4 separate regions of the Homo sapiens genome follow, and regions 2, 3 and 4 are each linked to region 1. The links are contacts of gene promoters, found by promoter capture Hi-C in blood cells and fetal thymus (Javierre and others, 2016). All regions are on one chromosome and are shown on one strand. Each heading gives the region's core, a stretch centred on a gene start or on the middle of the fragment in contact. The rest is flanking DNA. Distances are from core to core; before and after follow the strand shown.

Region 1 (2,906 bases), core at 246-2,745:
TACCTTTTAAAATTCCCATATCATTTGCTTACAAAGGGCTATGTAAAAAAAAAAAAAACAATTCCCAAATCACATATCCTTAAATTTAAGATCTAGGAAGAAAAATATGGTATTATAGCAGCTTTGCTTCTAATCTAGGAATTCCCCTACTTCAAAACTCAGCTGACTACATGACTACAATCAATTCATCATCATTTCTGAACTCAGAGTAATTATCAAATTGTTTTGTCCTACGGCAGAACTCTATTCAAGTAGCTAAAATAAAAGATGTTAGAGTCTAATACCAGATCTCGTTTTAAAAAGAAAAACATTTTGGTCATATTTGCAAAGGCCTTACTAATAGAAAAAAAAATTCTTACCAGGTCCTCATTGCTGGATACCTGTTGTGAACAACCTCTTCTCCAAAGCACTGCGATTAAACAGAAACAGCAATTAACCATTTCTTTTTCTTAGCTGAATAGCTAAAGATTTTTGTTTTTATGGAGACAGGATGAATTAAGGGACACGATATTAAAGAAAGGTTTTGTATTATATTCAGAATGGTTAAAAACTTTTATATTTGGGACAGAGTAAGACTCAACATGGGTGTGCTTTCCAGGGCTTAGGGGGAAAAGAACATATTTTCCCGCCCATACCTGCTCTTTCTGACATTTATTTTCCCTTCATTCCATGGTTAGAGAAAATTCTTAATGCAAATTCTTATAGGAGAAGCAACAGAAAGGCACTGTCATACCAAAAAGAAAGTAACAGACCCGTCCCAGAAAGAATTTATAGAGAAGCACAGAGAAGATAAAATTGCAAAAATTATGCAATTTTGTTCTGTTTGGGGACCTTAGACATCTGGAATTTGCTGCTGGGCGACTCTGGAAATGTCCCTTCCTCACTAAGATTATCCAGAGATCTTAGGAAAGTCTCTGCTTTTTAAGAACCACTCCAACTTCCTCATACGTTTAAATACTTTAAAGGAGTGGATTAGACGACACTAAAACAGTCAAAGGCAATTACAGATTCCCACCCATCTTGGAGAAACTTAATCGCCTAGAAACCAGAGTCGTTTTGCTAACAGGGACGACTCTAACCATTAGGACTAAGGTTAATGCCTGCAGCGCTACAATGGAGCATAGGATATGGAGACTTTACCCGTGTGAGTCCCGGGATGTGTAAGGCTGACAGCAGCCGTTACCAAGTGTGTCAACTTCTTCCTCCCTAGACCACCGCAAACAGCAACCACAGCGGCCATGGTTCCGCGTTTCTTCCACTTCCTTTCGTTCCAAATCGTTCCGAAAGGCCCCTTCCGCTGCTCTTCCCCTGTGGGCTCGAGTACCCCGTTCAAAGGTTCCGCAGGAGAACGCTGAGGACCCGCGAGAGTAGGTGAGGTTTTTCAATACGCATGCGCAGCACCTTTCTGTTCGTGCCCTCCCTACGCGGCAGGTCACGTGAGGCTTATGATTGGACAGGGTAGAAGTTTATGCGTGCTTCCGGTCCGCGAGCCCTGAGAGCTAACTTGGGGTCTTTTCCCAAGGTGGATGTAGAAGCGGGCTCCGGCGTCCCACTCTCCCTTCCATATGGGCTTAGCGTCTGGGTCACTGAGAACGACGTCTGAATAGGGCCCTGGGTCCTTGCCATGGATGAATGTGGTTCCCGCATCCGCCGGCGGGTGTCTCTCCCCAAAAGGAACCGTCCAAGCTTGGGGTGTATTTTTGGCGCTCCCACCGCGGCCGAGCTCGTGCCCGGAGATGAGGGGAAAGAGGAGGAGGAAATGGTGGCTGAGAACAGGAGGCGGAAAACCGCGGGCGTACTGCCGGTTGAGGTACAGCCCCTTCTACTCTCAGATTCCCCGGAATGTCTCGTCCTTGGAGGTGGTGATACAAACCCGGACCTCCTACGTCACATGCCCACTGACAGAGGGGTGGGAGACCAGGTACGGAGGACTTGGAACTTGAAACTGCAAACTTTTGGCATCCTTCCCAGATGCAAAGAGTTGACCAGTTTTATCGCCTTCGTTTACTTCTCTCGTCTTCGTTACCACTGTTAATCGGCACTTAGGAGGTATTGATTGCCTTGTTATTTACATTTCTATATAAATATGAAATGTAAACCCCGAGACATAAAAGTTGTGCACGCAGCAGTTAAGTGGCATGACTGAGACACAAATCTAGGCTTCCAGATAACTGCAGCTCCTACTGTACAAATAAAATCTGCTGTTTATTGAAGACCCGTTATGTTAAGCTAGTTATATTATCTAGATTTTACGACAGTAATCAGGCCCTGAAAAGTTGAGATAGTACAGTTCTTGCTCCAAATCCTGTTGTCTTAATCACTTTACTATATTGCTGCCTCCAGGTTTGTGTGTCTTCTGTGTAGCAGACCACTCCAAGTCAGTATTCAGTTTCTCAGTCTCAATTCCAAATTCCTAGGAACTCCTTGGAGTGTCTAGTGGTACAACCATGTTTCTGTTAGAGGCCAGTCACTGTAGATTGTAGTCTGGGAGGGAAGCGCTGCAGTTATCAGAAACTTCGAATGCGCTGACATTTCAGTAGACGTCTACCAGTCTTCCTGCTGTTTTAGTACAGCTTTAAGAATTACAATCTGGCCGTGTGCAGTGGCTCATGCCTATAATCCCAGTGCTTTAGGAGGCAGAGATGGGAGGATCACTTAAGCCCAGAAGTTCGCGTTCAAAACCAGCCTAGGCAACAGAGACCCAGTCTCTACAAAAAAAAAAAAAAATTTTTTTTTCTTAATTAGCCGGGTGTGGTGGCCTGCACCTGTAGTCCTAGCTACTTGGGAGGCTGAGGCAGGAGGATCGCTTGAGCCCAGGATGTCAAGACTGCAGTGAGCTGTGATCGTGCAGTGGCTGGAGCCACTGTGCTCCAGCCTGGGTGACAGAGCCAGACCCTGTCTCAAAA
Region 2 (2,906 bases), core at 167-2,666, 610 kb after region 1:
AAAAGTAAATATAAAATCTTGAAAAACAAAAAAAATTAATGCCCTTTTGTCTGTTATGTTTTTGTTTGGTACTACTAAATCAGGATAGATTACATTTGAATGTAACTGTTAACTCTCTAGAATACTCTCTATTTTGACTTTTTTCATTCATTTGACAAATATTTTTTTAAGACCCTGCCATGAGTGCCTGGCATTGCTCTGGCTGCTGTGGGGGTATAGTTATGAACAAAACAGAGTAAATTCCCCCCTTCATGGAGATTGCACTAGACTTAGTCTGTGACATAGGTAGGGCAGAACAGATGATGGCTGGGAAAACTGAGAAGCAGAGATGTCAAGCAACCCACCAGAACTGAAGACACAGAGCTTGAATTTCTCAGCGTTGCATGGCTGGTTACCGGCCAAGTTGGGATTAGAACTCCCAAGCGTCTTGTTAAACCAAGCTACCTGTCAGGTACTGAAGCAAGGCAAGCTCTACATTAGGAAAAGAGAATATTTGCTCTTTATGTCCTTAGCTTTTTCTTTCTTGAAAAAGATAAAAACATTGAAAGATTTGTTATACTTTGATTTACCAATCTTACACTTGTAGGAAAAGACAAAGTGAATCGTAAATAAAGCAGTGATTTTCTTGATTAAAGCTTAAGATGTACTGAATGAATGAGGACAGTGGCTTGTGGTTTTAATGCAGTGTTAACAGGCAGAGGCAAGGGGGTGAGAGAGGCCAGATCAGGAGGACTTGCACTTCCACTTTGACCAGCGCAGCTTTGCCTTTACAGTTGACCCTTGAACCATGTGGGTTAGGGGTACCGACCCTGCGTACAGTTGAAAATCTATGACTTCACTCCCCAGAACTTAACCCCTAAAATTAGCGTGCTGTTGACTGGCAGCCTTGCTGATAACATGAACAGTCCATTAACACACAATTTATATGTTGTATTTATTATATACCGTATTCTTAACAATGAAGTAAGCAGGCCAGGCGCGGTGGCTCACGCCTGTAATCCCTGTACGTTAGGAGGCCAAGGCAGGTGAATCCCCTGAGGTCAGGAGTTCGAGACCAGCCTGGCCAACATGATGAAACCCTGTCTCTACTAAAAATACAAAAAATTAGCTGGCATGGTGGCGCATGCCTGTAATCCCAGCTACTCAGGAAGCTGAGGCAGGAGAATCGCTTGAACCCGGGAGGCGGAGGTTGCAGTGAGCTGAGATCACGCCATTGCACTCCAGCCTGAACAACAAGAGCAAAAAACTCTGTCTCAAAACAAACAAACAAAAAAATAATGAAGTAAGCTAGAAAAAAGAAAATGTAATTAAGGAAATCATAAGGAAGAGAAAATATATTTACTATTCATCATTAATATTCATCATTAAGTGGAAGTAGTCTTCCTTCTTGTCATCACATTGAATATGCTGAAGAGGAGGGGTTGGTCTTGATGTCTCAGGGATGGCAGAGGGAGAAAAGGTGGAGGAGGTGGAAGGGGAGGCAGGAGAGTCAGGCACACTCAGTGTAACTTCTATTGAAAAAAATTCACATCTAAGTGGACCCATGCAGTTGAAACCCATGTTATTCAAGAGTCAATTGTATTATTATTATTATTATTATTATTATTATTATTATTATGTTTTGGAGTTTCTGCAAAGATTTACTTGACAAAAAGGATTTTGATGGCTTAAAAAAACAAACAGGCCGGGCGTGGTGGCTCACGCCTGTAATCCCAGCACTTTGGGAGGCTGAGGCGGGCGGATCACGAGGTCAGGAGATCGAGACCAGCCTGGCTAACACAGTGAAACCCCGTCTCTACTAAAAATACTAAAAATTAGCTGGGCATGGTGGCAGGCGCCTGTAGTCCCAGCTACTCAGGAGGCTGAGGCAGGAGAATGGCATGAACCTGGGAGGCGGAGTTTGCAGTGAGCTGAGATCGCACCACTGCACTTCAGCCTAGCGACAGAGTGAGACTCCACTCCGTCTCGGAAAAACAAACAAACAAACAAACAAAAAAACAATGGCCTCTAGGGCAAGCAACATGGTGTAGTATAGAAAACACTGGCCTGGAAATCAGGTGACTTGGAATCACCATTGAGTTGTACGGTCCCTTCACTTCTCTGGGCCTTGGTTTTGTCAGCAATAAAGGGTGGGGATTAGACTGGAAGATCTTTAATATTCAGCTTTAATACTCTGATTGTATGAGTTTTAAGCTTCATATTGGACTGATATGACTTTTGTGGCTGTAATGAAATCCAGAAAAGAGAGCTTATACCACTGTGTTTGTAGATTAGTAGTAGCTTGAATACTATTAATGCTTCCAAAAAAAAAATCACTTTTTTACTCAATTACTTTTTTTTTTCCTGGAATGTCTTTTTTCCTTCTCTACTTACAAAGCCTCACTTTACCCACTTATAATTGACACTTGAATGGCATTGTTCTTGTGCTTTGATTTAGGTTTTCATATTGATTTTTCTCCTGCCTTCCTCTCCCTGTTTCATTGTGATTGTGTGGTTTTTGTTGTTGTTGTTTTGTTTTGTTTTTTTGGGAATTCCAGCTACCTTGAAAGCAGTTGCCTGACTAATGTATGTTATCTTGCCAATCTTACCTTTGGCTTTGCATCTGGCTATTAATACCTTTTGGGGTTTTTTTCTTCTTTTAACGTTTTCATTTTTTATTTTCTGTGATTGGTATTTCTTTGTTCAATTCAGGTTAGAATTGCCCCTACTGTCACTACCTGGAGTAACAAAACTCCTACTGCCCTTCCCAGCCATCCACCTGCAGCCTCTCCCTCTGACACACAGGTATATCCTTCATTATTCCTCTTTGAGCAGAATTCTGCTCACCTAAATATACAGTTATATGTTCTCTACTTACCTTCCTCAAGCTCTTTCACCCCCACTCCCCATCCATCTGCCTGCTCATT
Region 3 (2,906 bases), core at 302-2,801, 580 kb after region 1:
ATTCTCCTGCCTCAGCCTCCTGAGTAGCTGGGACTACAGGTGCCCGCCACCACGCCCGGCTAATTTTTTGTATTTTTAGTAGAGATGGGGTCTCACCATGTTAGCCAGGATGGTCTCAATCTCCTGACCTCGTGATCCGCCCGCCTTGGCCTCCCAAAGTGCTGGGATTACAGGCATGAGCCACCCGGCCTCAAGTTTGTCTTCTTTCTAATGAATATATCCAACAAATGACACCTAAACCGATTTGATTTATTTGCAGTTGGGCATTACTAATGTTGTAGTGGTTTGTTCAGTATGTTTCTATTTAAAATATCTGTGTTCTGTGTTAGACATTCAAGTCATTCAAGGCTGTTTCTGTATAAAATATTCCCTTTAGCAGGATGAAGTTAAAGGAAGTAGATCGTACAGCCATGCAGGCATGGAGCCCTGCCCAGAATCACCCCATTTACCTAGCAACAGGTAAGTTCAAAGGAGAGAAGATAGTATGAGTTACCTAATTTCTTCTCTTCTGCACCTAGCTTATTCAGTTTAAGCTTTATCTTCTCTAGAAAGCCTCTCTCTCCCTGGCAAGTTACTGACATTCTATCAGCCAAGTTTAGTGTTCTTCCTCTGTGTTCCCATAGCATTTTGATCATGATGTGTTACATCTAAAATATTTTCCTTCACAGGAATTGTATTTTATCTTTATTCCTCCAGTATTAAGCACAATAGATGGCATGTAAAAAAAACAGTTAATATCAGTTTGAATGAATGAAGAGCAATTTTGATGTTAGCATTTTTATATAAAAAGAAATAGTTATATCATATATGTCTATAAGCAGATATAGTAAATCACGGGACTTTTTTTTTTTTGAGATGGAGTCTTGCTCTTTCGCCCAGCCTGGAATGCAGTGGCGTGATCTCTGCTCACTGCAAGCTCCACCTCCCTGGTTCCTTCCATTCTCCTGCCTCAGCCTCCCAAGTAGCTGGGACTACAGGCGTCCACCACCATGCCTGGCTAATTTTTTGTATTTTTAGTAGAGATGGGATTTCACCATGTTAGCCAGGATGGTCTTGATCTCCTGACCTCATGATCCACCCATCTCGGCCTCCCAAAGTGCTGGGATTACAGGCATGAGCCACCGTGCCCAGCCCCCATCACGGGACCATTTTTACAGAGATTTTTAAATATATACAGGCTTAAAAAATTATTTACACTACCCACTCTTATAAACATCCTCTCCTAGCCCTGTGCCAGAATCTCATTGCTATAGTAATTTAAGCATCTGCTCAATGGCATATGTGCAGCATTCATGAGCAAGAGAATGGAAAACATGCTTTTAACTTCTGTTTTGTATGGTTTCTCTGATCTTTTATTTTTGTGTGTATAGTTACCATAAATATATTTTCTATAGGAACATCTGCTCAGCAATTGGATGCAACATTTAGTACGAATGCTTCCCTTGAGATATTTGAATTAGACCTCTCTGATCCATCCTTGGATATGAAATCTTGTGCCACATTCTCCTCTTCTCACAGGTATGAGGTTCAGCTTTAAATTCATGTGATTATTTAATTATATATTGTTCTTGATTCCTAATTTGTCTATAATTATGCCATTATTAGAAACTACAAGGAATACCATCAAGAACATGAAATATTTTGTGAAAAAGCATGTGAGTGAATTTTTATGGAAGTAAAAGTAGTGTTTATGTGTTCTATTGACTTTTTTTTTTCTTTTTTTTTTTTGAGACAGAATCTTACTTCATAGCTCAGGCTGGAGTGCAGTGGCACGATCTCGGCTCACTGCAACCTCCACCTTCCAGGCTCAAGCAATTCTTGTGCCTCAGCCTCCCGAGTAGCTGGGATTACAGGTGCACACCACCTTGCCCAGCTAATTTTGTGTCTTTAGTAGCGACAGGGTTTTGCCATGTTGGCCAGGCTGGTTTTGAACTCTTGACCTCAAGCAATCCACCCACCTTAGCCTCCCAAAGTGCTGAGATTATAGGCATGAGGAATCACGCTTGGCCAGTATGTTCTGTTGGCTTTTTTATTGCTGTTACATGTAAGGTAGGAAGGAGAGGCTGTAGTTTCTAGCATTTTTTTCTGTTTTTTTGGTGTGTGTGTGGTTTTTTTTGTTTTTGTTTTTTTTTTGAGATGGAGTTTCACTCTTGTTGCCCAGGCTGGAGTGCAATGGCGCAATCTCGGCTCACCACAACCTCTGCCTCCTAGGTTCTAGCAATTCTCCTGCCTCAGCCTCCCGAGTAGCTGGGATTACAGGCATGTGCCACCATGCCTGGCTAATTTTGTATAGAGTTCTTTTTTCTATCTCCTTTATTGTGCCTGTTTACAAAAAGGTAGATGTGACTAGAAAAGGAGTAGTCATCGTAAGTATTAATAGTGATTATCTCTGAATGGTAGCTTATTTTTATTTTCTTCTGTTACGATATTTAGAAATATATCTCACAGTTTTGTTGACACGATTTCTAATACACTAGGTAACTAGGTATTTGGATCATACTTTCAAGTACTTATGCCCTATTGTAATGCAGAGAAAGGAGGTCTTCATTTCAGTAATAAAATAAGCTTTATTGCCTCAATATATTAGCAGGGTTTAAAGAGATTGCTCTTTAGCTGACAGAATATAGCTCAAATCATGCAGTTTCATGGGACCGCTCATATTCTTCAGAGCTGTCACAGTGGGATGGGAACCCCAGATACCTTTTGTCTAGTAGTTTTTCTGCTTACTACCATCTGTATCATCGTATACCTTTCTGCCTTCATATTTCATCTCCATTCTGGACCATATATTTTATTCTCTAATAGTAGGGGTACTTGTTATAATCTTGATGTCATTTTTCTACCATTAGAATACATTCTTTTTCTTAGAAAATTTCACATGACTCCTTTAACACCTTTACTATTTA
Region 4 (2,906 bases), core at 275-2,774, 520 kb after region 1:
GTGTTGAACTGTTCTTTTGACACCTTGTTCTTCAGCTGAATTGGCTTTTTAATCCTGTTGGTTTGCATCTGGACAACACATTCATGTGTCCTTTCAATGCCTATAGGCTTGTTGATTGGATGAATGGCTACCCACCTTATTTCATGGCTGTGTCTTTTCTTGTGACCATTTTCCTCCCCTCCACATCTTTTTTTTTTTTGGTATAGGGGAAGTTAAATTCGCCAAGCTAAATGTCATTGTAATTTCTCCATCTGAGCTCCGGTTAGACACTATTAATGTCTTTCCTATGGTTCTTAAAATATAAAGATAATTTTTAAAAAACAAATATATATATATATATAAAATCTAAATTACCATTATTGGTATGTTTTCCCCACTCTGAGGTCAGGAATTTTCTCTCGTCATCACTAGATGCTTATTAAGTATTGCTTTAGTTAGATTCCCATTCAGGCTCACAGTAACCCAGTTAACACAAACTTACATCCATTTTTTCCTTTGGTAAGTGGAATTTATTGGTGTCTTATAAGAAAGGAGCAGAGTAAATGTGTTTATAATGCAGCCCGTTTATCTTGCTAGGTGCTATAGAGAGAAAGGACAGTTTTATTTATTTATATAGACATGGGTTCATTGAAGAAAACACAGCTAACAAAAACATACTCAAATTCGTTAGAAATCAGGGAAATATACATTAAAGAACAGTGAAATCTCACTTTATCATCCCCACCATCAGATTATATATATATATATTTTTTTGAGATGGTGTTTCATTCTTATTGCCTAGGCTGGAGTGCAATCGCGTGATCGCGGCTCACTGCAACCTCCGCCTCCCGGGTTCAAGCGATTCTCCTGCCTCAGCCTCTCGAGTAGCTGAGATTACAGGCATGTGCCACCATGCCTGGCTAATTTTTTTTTTTTTTTTTTAAAGAGAGATGGGGTTTCTCCATGTTGGTCAGGCTGGTCTTGAACTCCGGACCTCAGGTGATCCTCCCACCTCGGCCTCCCAAAGTGCTGGGATTTCAGGCGTGAGCCACCGCGCCTGGCATAAAATGTTAAAAGGAATTATAATATTCATTGTTGGAGGGAATGTGGGAAAGCCTTCCTTTACACATTGCTGATGAGATGTGAGGTATTACAGCCTTTTGAAAAAGCAATCTGGCTACATCTCTTAAAATTCAAATACACAGGCCAGGCGCGGTGGCTCACATCTGTAATCCCAGCACTTTGGGAGGCCGAGGCGGGTGAATCACGAGGTCAGGAGGTCGGGACCATCCTGGCTAACACGGTGAAACCCCGTCTCTACTAAAAATACAAAAAAAATTAGCCGGGCGTGGTGGCGGGTGCCTGTAGTCCCAGCTACTCGGGAGGCTGAGGCAAGAGAATGGCGTGAACCTGGGAGGCGGAGCTTGCAGTGAGCTGAGATCGCGCCACTGCACTCCAGCCTGGGAGACAGAGCGAGACTCCATCTCAAAAAAAAAAAAAAAAAAAATTAAAATACACAGACCTGTTAACCAGTGAGCCCAATTCTAGAAATCTAACTCAGAGAAATAAAAAGGCATAATGTATAACAAAAAAGTCTTTTTATGCATCATTTGTGGTACCCAAGAACTGGAAACAAAAATAAACACCCATCAATAGGGAAATGAATGCCCAATAAAATTGACACATCATACCAGGGATTTACACCTAGCTGTTAAATAGAATGAATTCAAGCTATGCCAGATGACTTTGGAGGGATTCCATGAGTTGTAAGAAAAGCAAGATGCAGAAAAGCAGATAATATGATTTTGAAAAACTAAAAAATGAAAGTTCTATATTTGTATATACATAAGGTCTAGGATTTTATATATACTTACATTTGACATATTTTTACATGAAAATATATATTTATATGAAATGTAAAATACACACTAGTTTCATATGGGTTATTGAAGGGTTTGGGGAATCTGAAGTCCCTCCCGAACTCCCTCTTCAGATTAAAAATAGCATAATAGAATAATAAAAATGGCATCTGTGAAATCCCTTTAATGTGAAATTGTATACATATGCATAAATGGGAGGTCATCTATATGTTAATGATGATTTGATTGAGGTGGCTGGATTCTGGATGACCTTTATTTTTGATATTTTAGGATATCATTCATGTTTATGAAAAACATGTGTAACTCATATCTGAAGAAAATCTATATTCATAGTGGGGGAAAACTGACATGGAAGGACACAGCCACAAACGTTGTACAGCCACTGTCAGACTTAAGAATACCTAACCTAGCTAGCCACATGTGTAGTTACTGTTTGTCAGCCAGAGATACTTCCATCTAATCTTATTATCAGTTGACCAGGTAATGCTATTAGCTGTTGATTTGATTGTGGCATCTACTTATAGTAATGTATTTTGGTTTTGATTTGGAAACTTTTCTTATGTAAATCTTTTAGGCAAAAATAATGTGTTCCTCAATATGCAAATGTATTGGCTGTAAGAATTTTGAAGAAAGCCCGGAAAGGAAGACATTGATGCATTTGGCAGATGCAGCTGAAGTAAGGGTACAGCAACAAACAGCAGCCAAGACGAAGTTATCCTCTCAAATTTCAGACTTGCTTACTAGGCCAACACCAGCTTTAAATAGTGGAGGCGGAAAGTAAGTCAGTATTTTAATCTTTTTATAGTACTTCCCAAATACTTTTGGTAAAGTTTCTTTTCAGGGGGCAAAGTTGAGTTTATATTTTTGGTTGTTGCAAACCTGATTTTTGTGTTTTCTTTCCATCTTTAGTTACTTGTAAAGGAATTTAAAGGTAACAGAAACCACTGTCAGATTATTGTGCAGTTCGAAAATGCACAGTAATGATTTAGTCCACTGTGCTTAATTTCTGTCTACTAAGATGAGGTAATTATGTAATTTGAGGAACCC

Evidence for each region. The method cuts DNA at HindIII sites, captures the fragments that hold promoters and counts their contacts. A CHiCAGO score of 5 or more calls a contact.
Region 2: a fragment that was not itself captured here is called in contact with the fragment with the promoter of HELQ in region 1 in 2 of 17 cell types (total B cells and non-activated CD4 T cells); the score reaches 6.0 in total B cells.
Region 3: a fragment that was not itself captured here is called in contact with the fragment with the promoter of HELQ in region 1 in 9 of 17 cell types (naive CD8 T cells, activated CD4 T cells, naive CD4 T cells and 6 more); the score reaches 11.4 in naive CD8 T cells.
Region 4: a contact is called between a fragment that was not itself captured here and the fragment with the promoter of HELQ in region 1, in 1 of 17 cell types (total B cells). The highest score is 6.1, in total B cells.

What each region holds. Positions count from the first base shown.
Region 1 is chr4:83,454,412-83,457,317 of GRCh38, reverse strand. It overlaps HELQ (helicase, POLQ like), which reads left to right and starts at 1,495. Exons shown (of 18, transcript NM_133636.5): 1 at 1,495-1,921. The coding sequence starts at 1,625. It overlaps MRPS18C (mitochondrial ribosomal protein S18C), which reads right to left and starts at 1,260. Exons shown (of 6, transcript NM_016067.4): 1 at 1,141-1,260; 2 at 360-409. The coding sequence starts at 1,240. RefSeq lists enhancers at 1,208-1,502, 1,489-1,598, 1,939-1,988, 1,417-2,247. The HindIII fragment of the contact is 1,733 bases long and covers 1-1,688 here.
Region 2 is chr4:82,845,079-82,847,984 of GRCh38, reverse strand. All of the region lies in intron 20 of SEC31A (SEC31 homolog A, COPII component), which reads left to right. Among named protein-coding and RNA genes, the nearest start is that of SEC31A, 45 kb to the left of the region's middle. The HindIII fragment of the contact is 1,558 bases long and covers 638-2,195 here.
Region 3 is chr4:82,879,411-82,882,316 of GRCh38, reverse strand. SEC31A (SEC31 homolog A, COPII component) reads left to right here. Exons shown (of 27, transcript NM_001077207.4): 2 at 377-459; 3 at 1,395-1,518. The coding sequence starts at 381. Among named protein-coding and RNA genes, the nearest start is that of SEC31A, 10 kb to the left of the region's middle. The HindIII fragment of the contact is 2,032 bases long and covers 536-2,567 here.
Region 4 is chr4:82,930,673-82,933,578 of GRCh38, reverse strand. LIN54 (lin-54 DREAM MuvB core complex component) reads left to right here. Exons shown (of 13, transcript NM_194282.4): 12 at 2,434-2,636. Among named protein-coding and RNA genes, the nearest start is that of THAP9-AS1, 31 kb to the right of the region's middle. The HindIII fragment of the contact is 5,681 bases long and covers 1-2,906 here.